Regions from separate parts of the Homo sapiens genome. Here region 1 is linked to region 2. Evidence: promoter capture Hi-C in human tissues and cell types (Jung and others, 2019). All regions are on one chromosome and are shown on one strand. Each heading gives the region's core, a stretch centred on a gene start or on the middle of the fragment in contact. The rest is flanking DNA. Distances are from core to core; before and after follow the strand shown. Region 1 overlaps FAM161B (FAM161 centrosomal protein B). Region 2 holds the start of PSEN1 (presenilin 1).

Region 1 (5,102 bases), core at 1,384-3,883, 810 kb before region 2:
AGGTCATGGACATAGAGGCCTGTGGGGCTGTGGTGTTAGGCTGAGCAGCCAGCTGTGACCAGTGGGAAGGGAGGACTGGGGAGGAGGTCTGGAGGGAGCAGGGCCTCCTGACTGCCCTGTCCTCCACTCACAGATCTGCTTTTTTCCCAGGTGTGGCTCCACAAGGCGCTGCAGCTCCCTGAACAACCTTCCCTCCAACATTCCCAGGCCTCAGACCCAGCCACCCTCAGGCTCCCGGCCTCCCTCCCAGCACAGAAGCGTCAGCTCCTGGGCATCATCCATTACTGTCCCTCGGCCATTCCGCATGACGCTGCGCGAGGCCCGGAAGAAGGCCGAGTGGCTGGGCTCACCTGCCTCCTTTGAGCAGGAGAGGCAGCGGGCCCAGAGGCAGGGTGAGGAAGAGGCCGAGTGCCACAGGCAGTTCCGGGCACAGCCTGTGCCTGCACATGTCTACCTGCCCCTCTACCAAGAGATCATGGAGCGCAGCGAGGCCCGAAGGCAGGCAGGGATCCAGAAGAGGAAGGAACTGCTCCTCTCTTCTTTGAAGCCCTTCAGCTTCCTGGAGAAGGAGGAGCAGCTAAAGGAAGCTGCTCGACAGAGAGACTTGGCAGCCACAGCTGAAGCCAAGATCTCCAAGCAGAAGGCCACCAGAAGGATTCCCAAGTCCATTCTGGAGCCAGCCCTTGGGGATAAACTCCAGGGTAAAGACATCCTTGCCACCTTGCTGCCTCCTGCCTCGGGGAACCAATCCCACCATAGGGATTTAGTCAGGGCCCAGGGATCTGCCTGGCTTGGAGATTTGCTGCTTGGGTGGACCCACTAGAGGCTGCACGCTTAGTGCAGGCCATTGGGGAGGGTTAGGTCTGTCTATACAATCAGGACCTGTATGGTGCCAGGAGTGAGAGGTCCCACAGTGTCCCCAAGGCTCGTCCTGTTGACATCTAAGTGAATGCACATGAGGGCCTCTGCACCAGCACAGGTGCAGGAATAGAGAACCAGTGAGACACCTGAGGACCAGCTTGGGCTCATGCCACCACCAGCACACTGCCCTGAGATGCTCCCCCATGGCTCCTTCGTCCTGGTGAGGTAGTGTCAATCGCCGAAATTACCTGGGGGATGATTATTTACACATTTCCAAAAGTATAGCTCCAAATAAGGGGCTCAGGCTTTATTCACTTTTCGGTAGCATGTGCCATGCTCCAGGCACTGTGCCATGGTGAACACACAGACATGGAGTTTGTAGATATGTGAGGAAAACAGATAAAGACAAATACATACAAATGTGGCGAGTTATTTACAAGGATTAAAAGGGGAAGCATGGGAGCATATATCAAAGGGACCTAACCCGGGGATTGGTGAAGCAAGGGAGCAGTTAGGGAAGGTCCCCTGAGAAAGTGGGCCCTGGGGCTGAACTGAAGGAGGGGCGAAGAGGGAGGAGAAGTGGAGCAGGCAGAATGTGGCATGGAGGGGAGAGAAAGCAGAGCATCTGCAAGGGATGGAAAGGTCGAGGGCTGAGAGAAGAGGGAGTGGGAAGGAAGAGGCAGGCATGGGCCAGACATGAGGAGCTTTGCAAGCCACGTTGGCGAGTCTGGACTTCATCCCAAGGGCACAGGGAAGCCACTGAGGGAGTGAGGCAGGGTGGCCCATGATCAGAAATATAGTTCAGAAGGATCCTTCTGATTGCTGTATAGATAATCTGAGAGGGCAGCAAGACTGGAGGGATGTTGAGCCAAGAGGAAGCTATTTCACAATTCAGTAGAGAAATTGTGCAACTGGTTGCAGGGATGAAAAAACGAGGATGGACTGGAGAGAGGTTAAAGAGGAGGAAATGACAGAACTTGTGACTGATGAGAGACACGGAGGAGTCAGTGATGTGGGCAAAGGGCCTGGGCAGCTGGGTGGATGGTAGGGCCTTTCTCTCAGATGGGGAAACCTGGGAGAGGAGCAGGTTACTGGCCCACTTCCTCTGCTTCATCTCTGAAGAAGCAATCATAGAAAGTGCTCAGTAAGTGTAGATGGTCACTGCTTCTGCAGCCTGATTGACACAGGCAGTGGTGTTCTGGATGACATTTATTAACAAGCTCTCCAGAAAAAAAAAAAAGGAAGCTGGTTTGTAATGTTTGTTATTTTCTGTGGCATAATTACTCCTATTCAGGCCATCTGCAGGCATCTCACAGGATGTTAACGTGTCAGAATTCCTGAAAAGTTCCTACTTGCCTCCAGTAACACTTACAGCTAGTGTGTAAAAGAGGGAAAGTTCTCCAACCCTGTAGGTTTCTTGCTTGGTCCTTTCTTACCCATCACCATCCTTTCTCCACAGAAGCTGAGCTCTTCAGGAAAATTCGCATCCAAATGAGAGCCCTGGACATGCTCCAGATGGCCTCTTCCCCTATCGCCTCCTCTAGTAACCGGGCTAACCCACAGCCCCGCACAGCCACCCGAACCCAGCAGGAAAAGCTTGGGTTTCTGCACACTAACTTCAGATTCCAGCCTCGGGTGAATCCTGTGGTCCCTGACTATGAGGGCCTTTACAAGGCCTTCCAGAGAAGAGCAGCCAAAAGAAGAGAAACCCAAGAGGCCACTCGCAACAAGCCCTTCTTGCTGAGGACCGCCAACCTGCGCCACCCTCAGCGGCCCTGTGATGCTGCCACCACCGGAAGGAGGCAGGTGAGAGCCCAGGCAGCTGTGGGAGGGTCAGGGCTGCGGCCTGAAATACAGGGTGGGGCCAGGTCTTCCTGGAAAGCACTTCTCAACAAGGTTTTCCTATCTTTTTTTTAAACACCAGCTCAGTTGTAAGCAGATTCACTTTCCTATAAACTCCAGACCACAGCCCAGCCTGGGCAACAGAGACCCCATCTCTAAAAGAAAAATACAAATATTTGCCACATGTGGTGGTGTGTACCTGTAGTTCCAGCCATTCAGGAGGCTGAGGTGGGAGGACCTTCTGGCTGCAGTGAGCCAAGATGATGCCACTGTACTCCAGCCTAGGCAACAGAGTGAGACCCCATCTAAAAACAACAACAAAAAACAGGCCAGGCGTGGTGGCTCACGCCTTTAATCCCAGCACTTTGAGAGGCCGAGGAGGGCAGATCATCTGAGGTCAGGAGTTCGAGACCAGCACGGCCAACATGGCAAAACCCCATCTCTACTAAAAATACAAAAATTAGCTGGGTGCGGTGGCGGGCACCTGTAATCCCAGCTACTTCAGAGGCTGAGGTAGGAGAATTGCTTGAACCTGGGAGGCGGAGATTGCAGTGAGCTGAGATTGTGCCACCGCAGGCCAGCCTGGACAACAAGAGTGAAAGTTCATCTCAAAAACAGAACACAACAGAAACCATAGGGACACTTCTTTTCCTCCCTTACTGTAGAAGGATTTCACAGAAATAAGTCCAAGCAGGCTTGAGAGGCAAGGAGTTGGGATCAGTTGTTGATGTCTCTATACCAATTCCAAGGAACTCTTCTCATTTGACTAAAAACTTTAGGATTGATATCCAAGTCTTGGCTTGGTTGTGAAACTTGAGATCTCTTTATCCTTGCCTTATTCCCAGGAAAAAAAATGAAGATTCTCATTTTCAGTCCTTCAGTGAAGCTGAATCCTAGTAAAGATAGAAAATGGCTGGGCGCGGTAGTTCACACCTGTAATCCCAGCACTTTGGGAGGCCGACACGGGTGGATCACCTGAGATCAGGAATTCGAGACCAGCCTGACCAACATGGTGAAACCCCGTCTGTACTAAAACTGCAAAAATGTAGCTGGGCATGGTGGCTCACAACCTGTATAGTCCCAGCTACGTGGGAGGCTGAGGCAGGAGAATTGCTTGAACCAGGCAGCTGGAGGTTGCAGTGAGCCGAGATTGCGCCACTGCACTCCAGCCTGGGCAAAAGAGCGAGACGAGACTCTGTCTCAAAAAAAAAAAAAAAAAAAAAAGATAGAAACTAATCACACATGCTGTCCCACCAATACCAACCTTTGTTTCTTCTAGGATTCCCCACAGCCACCAGCTACACCCCTGCCAAGGAGTCGTTCTCTGAGCGGCCTTGCTTCCCTCTCTGCCAACACTCTCCCTGTGCACATCACAGATGCCACCAGGAAGAGGGAATCTGCAGTCAGGTGAGTGGTCAGGCTGCACGAGACCCATGCTCTGATTCTGGCCCCAAATGCTGGAAACCTCCCTGCCAAGGGGCCTCCTTTCCTGTTATCAGAGATACCTCAAGGGGTCAAAGGGAATTTTCTGATCAGGACTGGAACAATTGCGGTTCTCCACACCTGGTGCTTGGAGAACAGCTAGCCATCATTCAGCACATATTCATAGTGGGCTTATTCTGTGCCAGGCACAGTGTTAAGGCTGGAGATCTTAGGGAACCTCCAGTTTATTATCTAGTCTGAAATACAGAAAAGCAAAGAAGCAATGGCCATATTTTTTGAGTAGTGCAATGATGGGGGGTAAAGGGGACTGTGAGGGCACTGGGCAGCCTGGAGCAGGGGGGTCTTGTCTTGTGGAATAGATGTCTAAAGTGAAACTGAAGAACAAGGAAGAGTTCGCCAGACAAAGCCTGGAGAGAAGGAAGGTTCCAGACAGAGAGAACATGGATAAAAGCCCATGGGTGAGAGGAAGGGAGTAGTGAGGAACAAGAATTCAGAGAAGCATGCTAGCAGGTGGCTGAAGTTGCCGCAAATATGAGACATCCATTGCATAGATTTGAGATTCTCTGAGATTCATCTTGGGAAGATGTCAGAGTCTGTTGGGCAGCAAGAGCCTGCTTATTTTTAACTCTTCAACTGACCTGATTCTGTTATGATGTTCTCATTAAGCCAGCCCCCAGCAAGGGTTCTTCCACCAGGCTTCTGAGCTGAAGTAGGCAAGAGAGGTCATGGTGTAACAGCAGCTTAGGCCAGGGAGAGGACTAATGTCTTACTGCCTTCCCATGGGGCATGTAGGGGAGTACTCAGAACCTACTTGGATCGTTAAGCCCCACAGCAGGGATTGTAGAAGAGTATTTACGGTCCAAGGGATACTCCTTTCTTCTTCAGACTTCAGTTAGACCTACTAAATCAGGGCTAATTAATTGCTCAGTATCCTGAGGGCCCAAGAACACAGGCCT
Region 2 (4,956 bases), core at 1,591-4,090:
CGGCCTCCCAAAGTGCTGGCAGATTACAGGTGTGAGCCACTGTGCCCAGCCTTTTTTTAAAAAAAAAACGAAGTCTCACTCTGTTGCCCAGGCTGGAGTGCAGTGGCGCGATCTCGGCTCACTGCAAGCTCCGCCTCCTGGGTTCACGCCATTGTCCTGCCTCAGCCTCCCGAGTAGCTGGGACTACAAGTGCCTGGCACCATGTCTGGCTAATTTTTTGTACTTTTAGTAGAGACGGGGTTTCACCGCGTGAGCCAGGATGGTCTCCATCTCCTGATCTGGTTATCCACCCGCCTCGGCCTCCCAAAGTGCTGGGTTTACAGGCGTGAGCCGCTGCGCCCGGCCACCCAGCCTCTTTTTACATTTTTTTTCTTTTTTTCTTGACAGAGTCTGGCTCTGTCGCCCAGGCTGGAGTGCAGTGGCGCGATCTCCGCTCACTGCAAGCTCCGCCTCCCGGGTTCACGCCATTCTCCTGCCTCAGCCTCCCGAGTAGCTGGGACTACAGGCGCCCGCCATCACGCCCGGCTAATTTTTTTTTTTTTGTATTTTTTAGTAGAGATGGGGTTTCACCGTGTTAGCCAGGATGTCTCGATCTCCTGACCTCATGATCCGCCCGCCACGGCCTCCCAAAGTGCTGGGATTACAGGGGTGAGCCACCGCGCTCGGCCTTTTTTTACCTTTAAAAATGTGTTTATGGCTAGGCACAGTGGCTTGTGCCTGTATCCCACCACTCTGGGAGGCCAAGGCGGGAGGATCACTTGACTCCAGGAGTTCAAGACCAGCCTGGGCAACATAGTGAGGCTCCCATCTCTAAAAAAATAAATAGCCGGCCGGGCAGGGTGGCTCACGCCTGTAATCGCAGCACTCTGGGAGGCCGAGGCGGGCGGATCACGAGGTCAGGAGATCGAGACCATACTGGCTAACACGGTGAAACCCCGTGTCTACTAAAAATACAAAAAAATTAGCCGGGCGTGGTGGCGGACGCCTGTAGTCCCAGCTGCTGGGGAGGATGAGGCAGGAGAATGGCGTGAACCCGGGAGGCGGAGCTTGCAGTGAGCTGAGATCGCGCCACTGCACTCCAGCCTGGGCGACAGAGCCAGACTCCGTCTCAAAAAATAAATAAATAAATAAATAAATAAATAAATAAATAAATAATAGTATGTTTATTAGAAAATTTAAAATAGGGATAATCACCTTGTGGTTCTCCCAGTCTGCATGCTAATAAATTTGTATGCCTTTTCTCCAAAAGAAAAACAAAACAGGTTTTTTTTTTTTTTGAGACAGTCTCACTCTTTTGCCCAGGCTGCAGTGCAGTGGCATAATCTTGGCTTACTGCAACCTCCTTCTCCCGGGTTCAAGTGATTCTCCTGCCTCAGCCTCGCTTGGGAGCAGCTGGGACTACAGGCGCGCGCCCCCACGCCCAGCTAATTTTTTGTAGAGCCGGGGTTTCGCCGTGTTGTCTGGTCTCGAACTCCTCAGCTCAAGGATCCGCCCCGCGGCCTCCCAAAGTGCTGGGATTACAGGCGTGAGCCACCGCCCCGGGCCTCACATTTTATTTCTATTGGCTAGCGCTGCTCTAAATCTTCTGTTCCTTCTGCTACACCAGGCCTAACACTCAAAATCCCTGCCAACCTTTTCCTTCCTGAAGCTTCCCTCCCCTTCCTCAGCTCTGGCGACCCTGCGCTGTGGTGGTTCTCCAACCACACTCATTCTCCTCAGCTGGCTCCTTGCTCTTCTTCCACCCCCTCGTTGCAAGTGTTCCTAAGTGTTTGCCTTGGCCTCCTCTTCCCCTTCCTTAGCTTAGACTTCTCCACTGCTCCAACATCAACTGGAAATCTATGGAATTGATTCCTGTTTTCAGCTCCAGTCCTGTTCACAGGGCATTTTCACCTGCTGGCACTTCCAAAGTGACACTTCCAAACCACTTCCTCGCCCTCCTCTCTAAACCAGGTCTTTCTTCCTAACTTCCTTATTTCTGAGAATGTCTCTGCCATGTTCTAAACTGAAAACCTCCTAGTCAACTTCACACTTTATTCCCTGATCCTCAATTGGTTCCCATGTCCCGTTAGTGTTTCTTGTAAGCCTCTGCCACCACCGCAGATCGAACTCTAATCACATCTCACCTGAATTATGGAAAAGTCACCTCAATTCTCTCACCCATCCCAGCCTCCACTATGGATTAATATGCCTAAAGCAGAGCTGACCACAACGGTGAGAAGAATCTGAGAGGGAAGCAGCAGCAAACACAAGAGTCACTGGACATGCATGCCTCGAGACAGTCCCGACCAAGGAGAAAGCATCAGACCCCGTCTTCCGCCTCGAACAAGAGGCGTGCGGACTTCGCCCAGAATGCTCGTCGCCCCTGGACAAGGACACACCCGGGGCGTGAGGCGCGGAGTTTCACCAGTTGCTCAAGCAGACCCAGCCCAAGACGCTTCCTCTTTCTCCTACTCCACTCCAGTTCAGACGGCTACTAATCCCGGCCCAAGGCACCTGCGCCCTGAGACGTCTTCGAGCAAACAGCATTTCCGGACCAAGGCTCCCCGGAATCTCTCTCCACCCGGCCGCGCCCGAAGCCCGAGAAACGGGCCGCCCCTCCTGGTTTCCCACACGGGGTTCCCCAGCCCCAACCGGCCGCGCCCCGCCCCTCATCTTTTAGGACACCGGCTTCGCGGCCCGGGCGGCCACAAAGGGCCGGGCCCTGCCCGCGGCCGCCCATGTCCGCGGTGCCTTCCTGGCTTGCCCGGACTCCCCATCACGCACATACGCTTCCCCGCCGCCCCGCTGCCGCCGCGGCTCGTAGCTCAGGTTCCTTCCAGACCAGCCGCTGTTTTGTTTCCGATGTGAAACCGCGGACCCCGGAGCTGCCTGTCCCAGGCCCCGCCCGAGAACCCTCACCGTTGTCGTCATTTCCGGCTCTGGCGTCGTTGGCGGCCGGCCCACGGAGGAGGGGAGGAGCCAGGAGGAAGGGGGCGGGGCCTCCGGCCTGGAGAAACGATTGCGGGGAGAACCCAGAGCTCCACCTGGCCTTCCCCACCTGACGGAATCCGCCCAGAGCGCTGGCGTGGGTTGTCGGGGTTCTGAGGCTGCTCGAGCTGAGGACGAAAGCCCCTATATAAATTGGGCCCAGCGTGTGCTTCTCCCGGCATACAAGCGATGGCCATCCTAAATTTAACACCTGTCATTTCTTTAGGGTACCTATTTGCGAACCAGCTGCATCACAATCAAGAGAATGCTGTTAAAATCGCAAATATCTCTGCCCTCTCCCACCACTCAATGAATCAAAACTTCTGGTGGGTGGCGAGAACCTGAGAAACTGCATTTTAAACATCCTCCGCGATTCTTGGACTCCAACTTTGACAACCAGTCTTTCTAGGTGGCAAGCTAGCTGAGAGCAGAAAATGTGTCTGGTTTGCTGGGTCACTTGATTTTTGCATCTGCCTGCTCTTTGTCCAGTTTTGGTAAAGACAGTACCAATGTCTAATTCATTAGACAGCATACCACACTTACACATATATCCAAAAGCTAAAACTAAAAAATGAATACTACCTTATTTAATCAAGGTGAACGGAGAAATGTCAAACATGGGTATTCAAAAAACCGAAAATGAAATTAACGGTACATGGTATCTGGGCAAGTTACATTCTTCTAAAGTTTCTTTAAAAATCCACCCCCAAGCGGCCGGGTGCAGTCGCTCACGCCTGTAATTCCGGCACTTTGGGAGGCCGAAGCAGGCGGATCATGAGGTTGGGAGTTCTAGACCAGCCTAACCAACATGGTGAAACCCCGTCTCTACTAAAAATACAAAAAAATTAGCCGGGTGTGGTGGCGCGCTCCTGTAATCCCAGCTACTCGGGAGGCTGCAGCAGGAGAATCGCTTGAACCCGTGAGCTGAGATCACACCACTGCACTCCAGCCTGGGAGACAGAGCAAGACTCCATCTCAAAAAATAAAAATTAAAATTAAAAAATAAAATCCACCCCAAGCTATCCCTTCACATTCCTATCGCATCAATCTCCAATCCCTCCTCCCAACCCACTGCCAACCTTGTTCAAAAACATGAGATTCTAATACTTTTTACACACAAAAGCTTCATATTTAAGAACAAAAGTAATATTTTCCATTAGCAGAATGAAAGATAAGTTGTGGGAGAAGGTTGAACGAAAAAAGATGTTTTTAAAATTCTTCACCTCCCCCACTTTAACAAGAGTAGGGATTTTAGTTTGTTCATTTACAAGTGCTCATGCTTGTCAGCAGCACATATACATTTTACAAGTGCTGAGAACAGTGCCTGATACATAACAGTGCCTGATACATACAATAGTTCAGTATTGAACAAATACAGGCTAAAACCCATCTATTTGTGAACTACTTCAATCTGATTGCAGTCCGCTAATATTAATAGGATGTCTTAAAATGCTGATGAACTATTCTTAGAAACAATCTACAAAAATTTTGGGCAAAGATATTCATGGAATATTATATAGCAAAAAATTGGGAAACTAAATATGGTACAATAGGCAGGGTGCGGTGGCTCACGCCTGTAATTCCAGCACTTTGGGAGGCCAAGGTGGGCGGCTCATCTGAGGTCAGGAGTTCGAGACCAGCCTGATCAACATGGAGAAACCCCGTCTCTACTAAAAATACAAAAAAAGTTAGCCAGGCGTGGTGGCGCATGCCTGTAATCCCAGCTACTTGGGAGGCTGAGGCAGAATTGCTTGAGCCTGGAAGGCAGAGGTTGCAGTGAACCGAGATTGCGCCATTGCATTCCAGCCTGGGCAACAAGAGCGAAACTATGTCTCAAAAAATAAAAATAAATAAATAAATAAATAAATAAATAAATAAATAAATAAATAAATGTGGTACAATAAATTATGGTCCACCCACCTCACAGAATGTCATGAAAATTTTTCATGAACGCCTGGTCACGGTGGCTCATGCCTGTAATCCCAGCAC

The links. Contacts are between HindIII fragments. The study calls those that stand out against the background at their distance.
Region 1: a contact is called between a fragment that was not itself captured here and the fragment with the promoter of PSEN1 in region 2, in 1 of the 25 tissues and cell types used here (spleen).

Annotation. Positions count from the first base shown.
Region 1 is chr14:73,939,934-73,945,035 of GRCh38, reverse strand. FAM161B (FAM161 centrosomal protein B) reads left to right here. Exons shown (of 9, transcript NM_152445.3): 3 at 151-701; 4 at 2,321-2,667; 5 at 3,983-4,110. Among named protein-coding and RNA genes, the nearest start is that of FAM161B, 7.6 kb to the left of the region's middle. The HindIII fragment of the contact is 9,683 bases long and covers 1-5,102 here.
Region 2 is chr14:73,134,391-73,139,346 of GRCh38, reverse strand. PSEN1 (presenilin 1) reads right to left here and starts at 2,840. Exons shown (of 12, transcript NM_000021.4): 1 at 2,764-2,840. RefSeq lists an enhancer at 2,381-2,490 and silencers at 2,661-2,720, 2,981-3,060. The HindIII fragment of the contact is 9,269 bases long and covers 1-4,956 here.